3 separate regions of the Homo sapiens genome follow, and all the other regions are linked to region 1. Evidence: promoter capture Hi-C in 16 types of primary human blood cells and fetal thymus (Javierre and others, 2016). All regions are on one chromosome and are shown on one strand. Each heading gives the region's core, a stretch centred on a gene start or on the middle of the fragment in contact. The rest is flanking DNA. Distances are from core to core; before and after follow the strand shown.

The links. Contacts are between HindIII fragments. The CHiCAGO score rates a contact against its expected background, and 5 or more counts as called.
Region 2: a fragment that was not itself captured here is called in contact with the fragment with the promoter of DNAJC10 in region 1 in 1 of 17 cell types (naive B cells); the score reaches 5.2 in naive B cells.
Region 3: a fragment that was not itself captured here is called in contact with the fragment with the promoter of DNAJC10 in region 1 in 1 of 17 cell types (non-activated CD4 T cells); the score reaches 8.2 in non-activated CD4 T cells.

What each region holds. Positions count from the first base shown.
Region 1 is chr2:182,714,745-182,717,943 of GRCh38, forward strand. DNAJC10 (DnaJ heat shock protein family (Hsp40) member C10) reads left to right here and starts at 1,513. Exons shown (of 24, transcript NM_018981.4): 1 at 1,513-1,739; 2 at 2,272-2,328; 3 at 3,197-3,199. It also overlaps a transcript of PDE1A not described here. RefSeq lists enhancers at 996-1,145, 1,166-1,235, 1,580-2,184 and a silencer at 1,746-1,905. The HindIII fragment of the contact is 1,821 bases long and covers 246-2,066 here.
Region 2 is chr2:179,994,358-179,997,556 of GRCh38, forward strand. The region is part of intron 1 of CWC22 (CWC22 spliceosome associated protein); the gene reads right to left. Among named protein-coding and RNA genes, the nearest start is that of CWC22, 11 kb to the right of the region's middle. The HindIII fragment of the contact is 3,802 bases long and covers 1-3,199 here.
Region 3 is chr2:180,013,290-180,016,488 of GRCh38, forward strand. No RefSeq gene overlaps it. Among named protein-coding and RNA genes, the nearest start is that of CWC22, 7.6 kb to the left of the region's middle. The HindIII fragment of the contact is 662 bases long and covers 1,141-1,802 here.

The DNA.
Region 1 (3,199 bases), core at 263-2,762:
GATGGGATTTCACCACGTTGGCCAGGCTGGTCTCGACCTCTTGACCTCAAGTGATCCACCCGCCTCAGCCCCTCAAAGTTCTGCGATTACAAGCGTGAGCCACCACACCCGGCCCACCACCTCTTAAAGCATTTACCCTATTTGTCTAACATTCTCCTGTTCTTTCTCCAGTTTTGTATGCTTTGCATCCTCTCTCCAATAGCTGCCAGGATGATCTAAAATACAATCTCAGTCTCTTTTTTAAAAGCTTCCTCATCACCTAAGAGATAGAAATCTATGTCTTCATCTTGGTATAAAAACCTGTCTGTGATCTGGTCCCTGCTTCATCTTCCAGTTTTCTGTTTGTTTTTCAATTTACTTTAAGATTTTGTTACAGTGTGTAACAAAATGGTTACACACTGTGTCATAATGCTTAACATCATAGTCTCTGAAGCCAGGTTGCTTAGATGTGAATCCTAGCTCTCAAATATTTGCCTCAGTTTCCTCAAATGGGAAATAGATATAGGAGCCACTATCTTGTAAGATTATTTGGAGGACTAAATGAGTTACTACATGTGTGCTTAGACCAGTTCCTGAGACATATTAACTACTATTACATCAGGCTGCTTCTAATGTTTGCCTTTGTTCATTCTACTTCCTCTTCTTTCCTACCAAGTATTAGCTTAGCCATAGATCCTGTGTAGTTTTCCAAGTTTTTAGAAGCTGACACTTGATTTACTCCCCGAAACTGTTACCAATCACAACTTATTTCATGTTAGGGTTGATGTTATAAGCAGGTATCCTCTAGGCTCGGTTTTCTCTTTTAAATATAGAAAATGTAGTAAATATAACCACTTCAATTGTTATATTGCTGTGGGACAAAATGCAGTTCCTGTACCATAGCAGTAGGAGATCAAGGTAAGAGAGAACAACGATAACTCCCCAGTTTCTAGCTTGTATGACTCAGAATCCAGAAAATATTGTAGAAGTCTCAAATGCTTGTTGATACACACGCTTACACAAAATTGTAAATGTTTTAATTTCCTTCAAGTTTCCTACTGCCTCTTCAGTCCGCTAGCCTGATACTGCAATCAGTGTCGCTTCAGGCAACTTCTCCTTTCTCCGCCAAATTTCGCCTTTCGGTCTCACCCACCCATCACCCAGACAAATCCTCCAAAGCTCCGTCTTCCCTTTAAAAGACTCTCAGGGAACTCAACCCCAAAACCCACCCTCTGGGTTTCCCCGTCACCCTGGCAACGGAAGCAGGAAGAGGCGGGCTTCGCCATCCACCCTCCCCGCCCGCGGCAGGCGCCGGCCGCATTGGTGAGGGGGCGCGGGCTGCTTGGCCAGGGCAGTTCCCTCAGCTCCGGGTTGGAGCCGGAGCCGGAGCCGGATCCCGCGCACACCGCCACGTCAACCTAAACCTACACCGCCCTCTCCACCCCACCGCCGCAGCGCCCGCTGGGCCCGCAGCGGGTCTCCCCAGGCAGCGTCCTCCACGCCTTTCCCACAATGCTCCGCGCCAGGCCCCGCCCCGGCTCGCCGTGGAGACCGGCGCGTGAGGAACCTACCGGTACCGGCCGCGCGCTGGTAGTCGCCGGTGTGGCTGCACCTCACCAATCCCGTGCGCCGCGGCTGGGCCGTCGGAGAGTGCGTGTGCTTCTCTCCTGCACGCGGTGCTTGGGCTCGGCCAGGCGGGGTCCGCCGCCAGGGTTTGAGGATGGGGGAGTAGCTACAGGAAGCGACCCCGCGATGGCAAGGTGGGCATGGGCCCGGGGCTAGGGCTTTGCTGGAGCCGGTGGTGGCCTGGGCCCTCCGGTCAGGGAGGGGCGGAATGGCTGAGCGCCTGAACCTCCCTTCCTGTGCGCTCTTAAGACCTGGATATTGTGTTCTCGCTCCCCACCTTCCTCCTCCCTGTTATTCACACCACCCTTCCTCTGCCCAGCGATTCCCTCTCAGTTACTTACACTTTCTCCCTAAGTCCGACCTGAGACTTCAGACACCAGCAACACTTAACAGCCCTGTTCCCCCGTGTCTTCATCTTTACCCCTCTCCCCTCTCCCACTCTGCAGTGATGGCAATGCGAAAGCTTGCGCCTTGCATTTACCTGGCGCTTCCACCTGCCCGGTAGCTCGGGCCACGGGCAGTTCGGCCACACCCACGCTGAGAACAACCCCTGGGCGAGAAACATCTTATCCCAAAGTGTTGATTGAGACTATGCCCTCTCTTTTTCTGATGGTTGTTTTCTTGTTTGGATACTTGTTAATCTCTACATCATTATATTTTTCAAAGGTATATTTTTGTGGAATGAAAAGGAAGTATTAGAAATGAGCTGAAGACCATTCACAGGTAAAGAGAAAAATTTTTAAATATACATTTAGGATTAAATGAAAAACAGAAATGAGGTGCGAGGAGCGTTAGATTTTTCAAAGCATTACGATCTCTTTGGAACTAAAATATAGTGGTTGAAATGTGATATGATGAAGTAATGATTGTTTTTGCCCTGCAGAGAGTATGTCTAAATAACCGATTCCCTTCTCTTTTTGTGTTTTGTTTCTACTTACACCAAACATGAACTTTGCAATAAAATTACACTGGTAACTTACAATTGTTTTTCTACTATTTTTAAAAAATGGCCTCTACTTAAATTCAGTATAAGCACCTTCTGAGGAAACTCCGGGAAGAAGATCGACTGCTGTGTAGATTGTCTATTATAACAATATATTTCACTGTCATTTCTGGTAGGGTTATATGAGAAGTAAAAAACCCTATGTTTCCTTCTAGTCCCTCCCAAGGACATTTCCTACAAGTGAATTCTGCTGAAAATGAAAATTAGACAGCTTTAGGAGGTAAAGAAGTAGCTAAAAGGAAGAGGTATTACAGGCAACGCTATAACTGGGTAGAAAGAGGAAGCACCTGTAGCTCATTGCCACCTTTGTGTTCTGATGCTCGTCAGAGGTCTTTTCTCAGTGTATAAATTGCTGAGGGTGTGTGTGCAAGCTACTTACTACCACTCATGACCTTTTTTCTGCTATCTTCAGTGATTTCACAAATCTAGCTACATGGATGTAGAAAGAGTGAAAAATAGAACCTGGGGCATTCACACTGATTTGCCATTTAATGGAGATTGTATTGCTGACCATGTTCTGTGATAAATAAATTGTGCTATTATTGTTTAGTTCAAAATGTATTTTAACTGCCTGCTTTTCTTTCTTAGATT
Region 2 (3,199 bases), core at 292-2,791, 2.7 Mb before region 1:
GGTCCAATTCCTTCTTTTAAAAGAGAACACTGAAAGCCAGATATCCTATTTCAATTATAATTATAATAATTAAATTATAATGCCAGCTAGACTTACAACTAGAAACCTACCATAAGGACACCCTGTTAAGTATTCCTTTCACTGGCACACACATACAAATAGTCTTGACATTATAAAGTGATACAGAGCGGCTGTCATTTAATGCAGATGGGGATGTATACGAATTACTAAGTCAAGAAATGTTTCTATTACAATGATTGGCATGGTGTCAAGGTTAGTAAAGGCAAACTTATCAATCTATAAAATATAACTACAATCTAAAGCACATCACTGCTTATGTACGAGGCTTACAGTTAAAGAGACAAATGTGTGTAACTTTACATAATACGCTTATTAACAGGCTCTTTCTTCAATTAGTTATTATTGCAGTTGTTTAGAAAGCTCAGCCTTGTTTTCAGCTGGCAAGTTGTCCCCCAATCTTTTCTTTATGTATCTTTTTAAAGTTTATCAGCACTTTGGGAGGCCGAGGTGGGTGGATCACAAGGTCAGGAGATTGACACCATCCTGGCAAACACAGTGAAACCCCGTCTCTACTGAAAAATTACAAAAAATTAGCCAGGCGTGGTGGCGGGCGCCTGTAGTCCCAGCTACTCCGGAGGCTGAGGTGGGAGAATGGCGTGAACCTGGGAGGCGGAGCTTGCAGTGAGCTGAGATCGTGCCACTGCACTCCAGCCTGGGCAACAGAGTGAGACTTCGTCTCAAACAAACAAACAAACAAAAAAAGATTACTCTGGGTCCTAAATCCTGATGCCCACAGACTAGTCTATCTAGGACCTTATTATGCCCACAACTATGACATCATTGTTTGAACTTAGTTTCAGAGTAACTTTTCCTACTCGATGCTATACCTTAGATAAATAATTGAGAAAATCCAGAATAAGTTACGTAAAACACTTCATAAAATCAGACTCTGTGATGGTAGCAGAGAGGAGAGGCATGCCCCTCTACCTTAAACAGTCTATTCTGATATCATGCAAGAGTTACCATCTTAATAAGCCTATGTTATCAAAAGTCAAATAAAAAACATGTTTCAAAGGCGAAAGAGAGGTTCGAGACTAGAGAGAATTACACTGTTTTCCTCTAAGAACTTAAATAATAAGGGTGTTTTGATTCCCAGGGCCACTGGGTAGTTTATGTAGCACTTCTGAACAAATTTTTTAAAACGGTAACTGAACTTCCACTTCTGAAATGGCTAGGAAGTTCCTACTGAACCTAATCCTTTCACAGGTAACAACCATAAACTCTTGACAAAATATACAACAACCACCTGAAGGCACTGGAGAATGAACAAAAGCAGGCTGAGTCTAGAGGAGAGTAGATGCCTTGAGAAAGGAGCAACATGAGTGAGTTATCCCATTTAATATAGCTTTAGTCTGAGGGCAAGCTGCAGTCTGTACCACGCAAGGGTGGCTAAAACTGATGAAAAGCTGCAGCCATTCTCATTTGAAGAACAAGAGGACAGAGTCTGAGGCAACCACAACTGCTGGAAACTGAGGGGGAATCCAGGAGGGGAGAGAGTCAGTGGAGGGGAACCCCATATGCTGGGTATAAATTGTTCCCACATCTCTGACTACCTCTGAACCAACACATGTACAAGACAGATTCCTGCCAAGAACTGAACTAAGATTTGAACTGCTGCTCAAGAGACTAGAGTTTGCAATTTAAGTCCAACCAAGTTAACTGCCTAAAAAGTCACCACTCCTTAGAGGAATGTAAGGAAACCAAAATCTCTATAACATAAAAATAATATCCAGGAGACAATTAAAAATAACATTTAAAAAATGTGGCCCAATCTTAAGGAAAAAGACAATCAAAACAGATCAATGCTGAGATGATCCAGATCCTGGAATTAGTATATAAGGTTTTTAAAGCATGGTTTTTAAAACATATGGAACGATGCAAAGAAAAATATGCCTGGGAAATTTCAGCCAAGAGAAACGATAAAATAGAACCAAACAGAAATTCTAAAACTGAAAAATATATGAAATAAAAAATTCACTGAATACGCTTAACAGTAGAATGGTTAATAGTTAAAGCCAAAGATAAAGAGAAAAATCCTGAAAGCAGAAAAGAAAAAAACAACATATTATATACAAGGAAATAACAATTCAAATTACTGTTGACTTCTCATCAGAAACTAAATAGACCATGTTCTCATTTACATGCAGAAGCTAAAAAAGTGGATCTCATGAAGATAAAGCAGACTGGCGGTTATCAGAGGCCAGAAAGGGGAGTGGGGTGTGGAGGATGAAGGAAAAAAAAGGAGTATAAATGTATTTATTACCACTGAACTGTACACTTAAACACGGTAAAGATGGTAAATTACATCTCTATATATTTTATATCAAAATTTTTGAAAAAGAAACTAGAGAGACTTGAAAATAGTGAAACAATTTTTAAAAGTGTTAAAAGATAAAAAAAAAAGTTAACGTAGAATTCCAGCAAAAACAATCTTTAAAGGAAGACAAAATGAAGACATTTACTGATTAAACAAAAAACAACAACTAAGAGAAAGAAACTAAGAGAATTTATCACCAGCAGACCTGCACTACAAAAAATGCTAAAATAAGTTCTTCAAGCTAAAGGGAAATGATGCTAGATGGAAACTGTTTTTCAGAAAGAAATGAAGAATACTGTAAATGATAACTTTCTCAGGAAATACAAGATACTGTTTTATTTTAATTTATCTAAAATACATATGACTCTTTACAGCAAAAATTATGTCTTGAGGGGTTATAATATATGTAGCCAGAGTATATATATGTATAGTATATAGAACTAGCGACCAAAATGGATCTACACTATGCAAGGTTTTCTACATCTTTCGTAAGGTGATACAATATGGACTCTAAGTAGCACATGAAAAGTTAAGGATATATATATACTGTTCCTTAGAGTAATGACTAAAAAAAAAAAGTACAAAATGTAGCTTAAAAGGCTACAAATTAAAATAGAATTTTAAAAAATATTTAAAACAGAGGCTACCCCCTCCCTCACCTGAGGATGAGAGCCCTGTAGGGATAACCCTTATCTCAGCTGGATTTTAGGACCATTTGCCTCAACAAGATGACTCTGTTGAAACCAAATTGCATGACTCCTTCCAAAGCTCCTGTTTTAATGGCTATAAAGGTATAGAGAG
Region 3 (3,199 bases), core at 222-2,721, 2.7 Mb before region 1:
ATTGTTACTAAGGAGCCAAGTTCTATGACAGCCTCTCCTACAGTCAGCACTGACCTGTTGAGAAGAGCCAGTGCTGGATGTCTTGGTGATGTTGGTGCCCCGCTTACTAGCAAATTCCTGATGACCTTGGGGAATGATGTGTCCTCATGGCCTCCTGTGGAAAATAATTTTTTCTAGTAGGCTTTCTGATCTCACATCCACTCCAGCATATCCGCTTTCCTGGTCCTCTTACTGCCTTCCTCCATTGTCCGCAATGACAATTTAGGCATTTCAGTTTTCCTCAGCATGGGCCATCACTTTCTCCAGGTGTCTAGAGGTACCCTAGCAGCAAATTTGCTCTACCTCCTCAGATCCTTTCCAGCGAGTTTAATCTTATATCCCAAGAGAGTGCCCCAATGTCAATAAATTCTTATTTATCTGGTATTATGTTCCAGTACTATTTACCAGTGAAGTATTTTAGCAGCTGGGCTACTATATTGTGCCAGGGACTAACTGTGCCCCATATGCCACCTGCAGTGGGCTCTTGTTTGTCATTCAGATAATGAGGGGTCCAGTGTCAAAGTCTCAACTTACCACTTGTTTTTTTTTTTTTGAATCATTCCTGGAATCACTGTATCAATTGGATCCTCTAAGAAGCAGATACTGAGATAGAAACAGGGGTGTCAAAAGTGTATTAGAAAGTAATACCTGTGAAAGGAAAAGACAGAAAGCAAGATTGAGCAGAAAAACTCAGCAGATCATGATGAAATCTGACAGGTCTTTGAAAGCCCAACAGAGAGGTCCAGAGTAAGGATTGCCTGTTAGAAGAGTCTTACATTGGGTGAAATTTTAGGCCATTTAATATAGTTTGGATGTTTGTCCCCTCCAAATGTCAGGTTTAAATGTGGTCCCCCTTCCCCGACCAAGGTTGGAGGTGGGGCCTGATGGGAGGTGTTTGGGTTATGGCAGCAGATCCCAAATGAATGCCTTAGTGCCCTCCCCACAGAAATGAGTGAGTTCTTGCTCTGTTAGTTCATGTGACAGCTGGTTGTTTAAAAAACAAAACAAAAAAAAAAGGAGTGTGCCCCCTCCTGCTCTCTTTTGCTCTCTCTCTTGCCATGTAACCCGCCTGCTCTCCCTTTGCTTTCTGCCATGAGTAAAAGCTTCCTGAGGCCTCACAAGAAGTCAAGAAGATGCCCGTCCCCTGCTTATACAGCCTGCAGAACTGTGAGCCAAATAAACTTCTTTTCTTTATAAATTATCCGGTTTCAGGTATTCCTTCATAGTGATATAAAACAGACTAACACATCATTATACCACATTCTTGCTTGATCTTTGGCTGGGGTGACCCCAAGAAGAGTATGACCCGGGCCCTGAGGCAGATCTGAAGGAGTTAACAGCTGGAGGCCACAAGTCTGAACATCGGAAGGGTGCATTTCTATGCCTGCCACAATAGGTATTAGCATAGGGAGATGCTAGAAGTAATTAGATATGTTTGGTATGCTCCATATTTTTAAACTAGCTCAACACTATTATAAGAGTTGCATGGGAAGAACTGTCAAATCAGAAGAGATACTCAGCCTCCCCTAGGTTCAGTTAATATAAACATTTCAGAGATTTTAGATTTTAAGGGAAGACTCTGGAGAGTTATCACTGCCCTCACTGTTTATATTAAGTTCTCACTTTATAGGAAGTGTTGATTAAACACTTATGAAATGCTAATGGAAAATTTTATTCTGACTCATTCTGATAGTATTGGTATTATAATAAATCGATCACAGCTATTCAGCCTAATTCTCAAGCAGATTTCTGTTTCCCTCTGAAGCTTGCCTAAAACAACAGGCTAGGCTTTGTTTCTCCAGAGAATATAATCTCAGAGCGCTGCAGAAAAGACTGTGCTAGGTACTCTGAACTATGGATATTTCAAAGAATAGTCTTGAGTATAATCTTCCAAGATAAGATTGCTTAGAAAACTTTCAGGCTGTACTAGTGGACAAAGTCAGGATTTCCAGAACCCCTTTCTGTTCAGAAGCAGTTATGCTTTATCAAATCCAACTGCTTGATCCAAGGCCCAGTGGACTAAGAATTAATTACAGCATACTTAAGCTAATGAGGGAAATTTTAATGTGGTTTATTCAGAATATTTTTGGCATTAATTTTATGGTCTATCTTTTCATAGATACATAACAGATTCTTTTTCTTCTGAAGCTATCTTAAATCCTCAATTAAGTAGACTCTTGGTGTTTTGGGGTTTGATTTTCACTGACATATAAGAATTGAGAAAATTATTTTTACAAGTCTCTTTACTTTTTCATAGCAATATAATTTTTGCATAGGATAAATAAGAATATGTCTTCATTTTTACCAGGGTATAATTGGACAAATCAATTTTGCAATAAGACTGTATTTGGAGTGTTACATTTGAAAATAATTCTCATTTAAGTATATACGAACAAGAGTTGACTTTATATGTGGAGACCAGCTCATAAATGACACCAGCTGTTGTCGTTACTGGGAAGGTCAGTAAGCTGAATAACGACCATTTCCTTGGAGACCAAGGCACCCAGGGACATTGAACTCATCAAAGAAGTCTCACTAATCCCTTTTCCTGTAAAGTTCAGATGCTACTTTGGAGAGGAGGCGGGAAAGGATGGATTGGACACGCTAGAAGCTTTACTGAAATACCTCAGCATCAGTTAGAGTTTTTGTTGTTGCTGTTCAGTGGGGAGGGCAGTACTTACCCTCAAGGGGGTGTTTGGAAATGTATAAGGTCAGTTAAGGTTGCCCCCATGCCAGGAGAGGCAGCTGCTGCCATTTTGTAGGGGAAGGAAGTAGGGTAAGGGAGAAAGTGTGCTGTTAAATCTTACAGTCCATTGGATTTAGGGAAATGGGTTAATAGATTTCTTTTCCTCCCGTTTGCACAACCCAGTGGGTGGAGCTCTTAAGGAAGATAGATTTGTTTAAACAAAATAAAGAATTACGTTTGTGTCCCAGATCCAATTTGTAATATGGCTGGTTCTGTTAGTTACAGGTATATTTAAAAGCACAATTAATCCAAATGCAATTATATCCATATTTTTTAAAGCTGGGAGTATAGATTCCTAGAGGGAACAAAACATACTCTTTAATTTTTTGTTTTAAGATATGTTTTTTTGCACGGCACCTAAATTTCAGAGGATCGCGTTAGTCACACTGAAAAGCTAAAGCTTTGACTCACTGA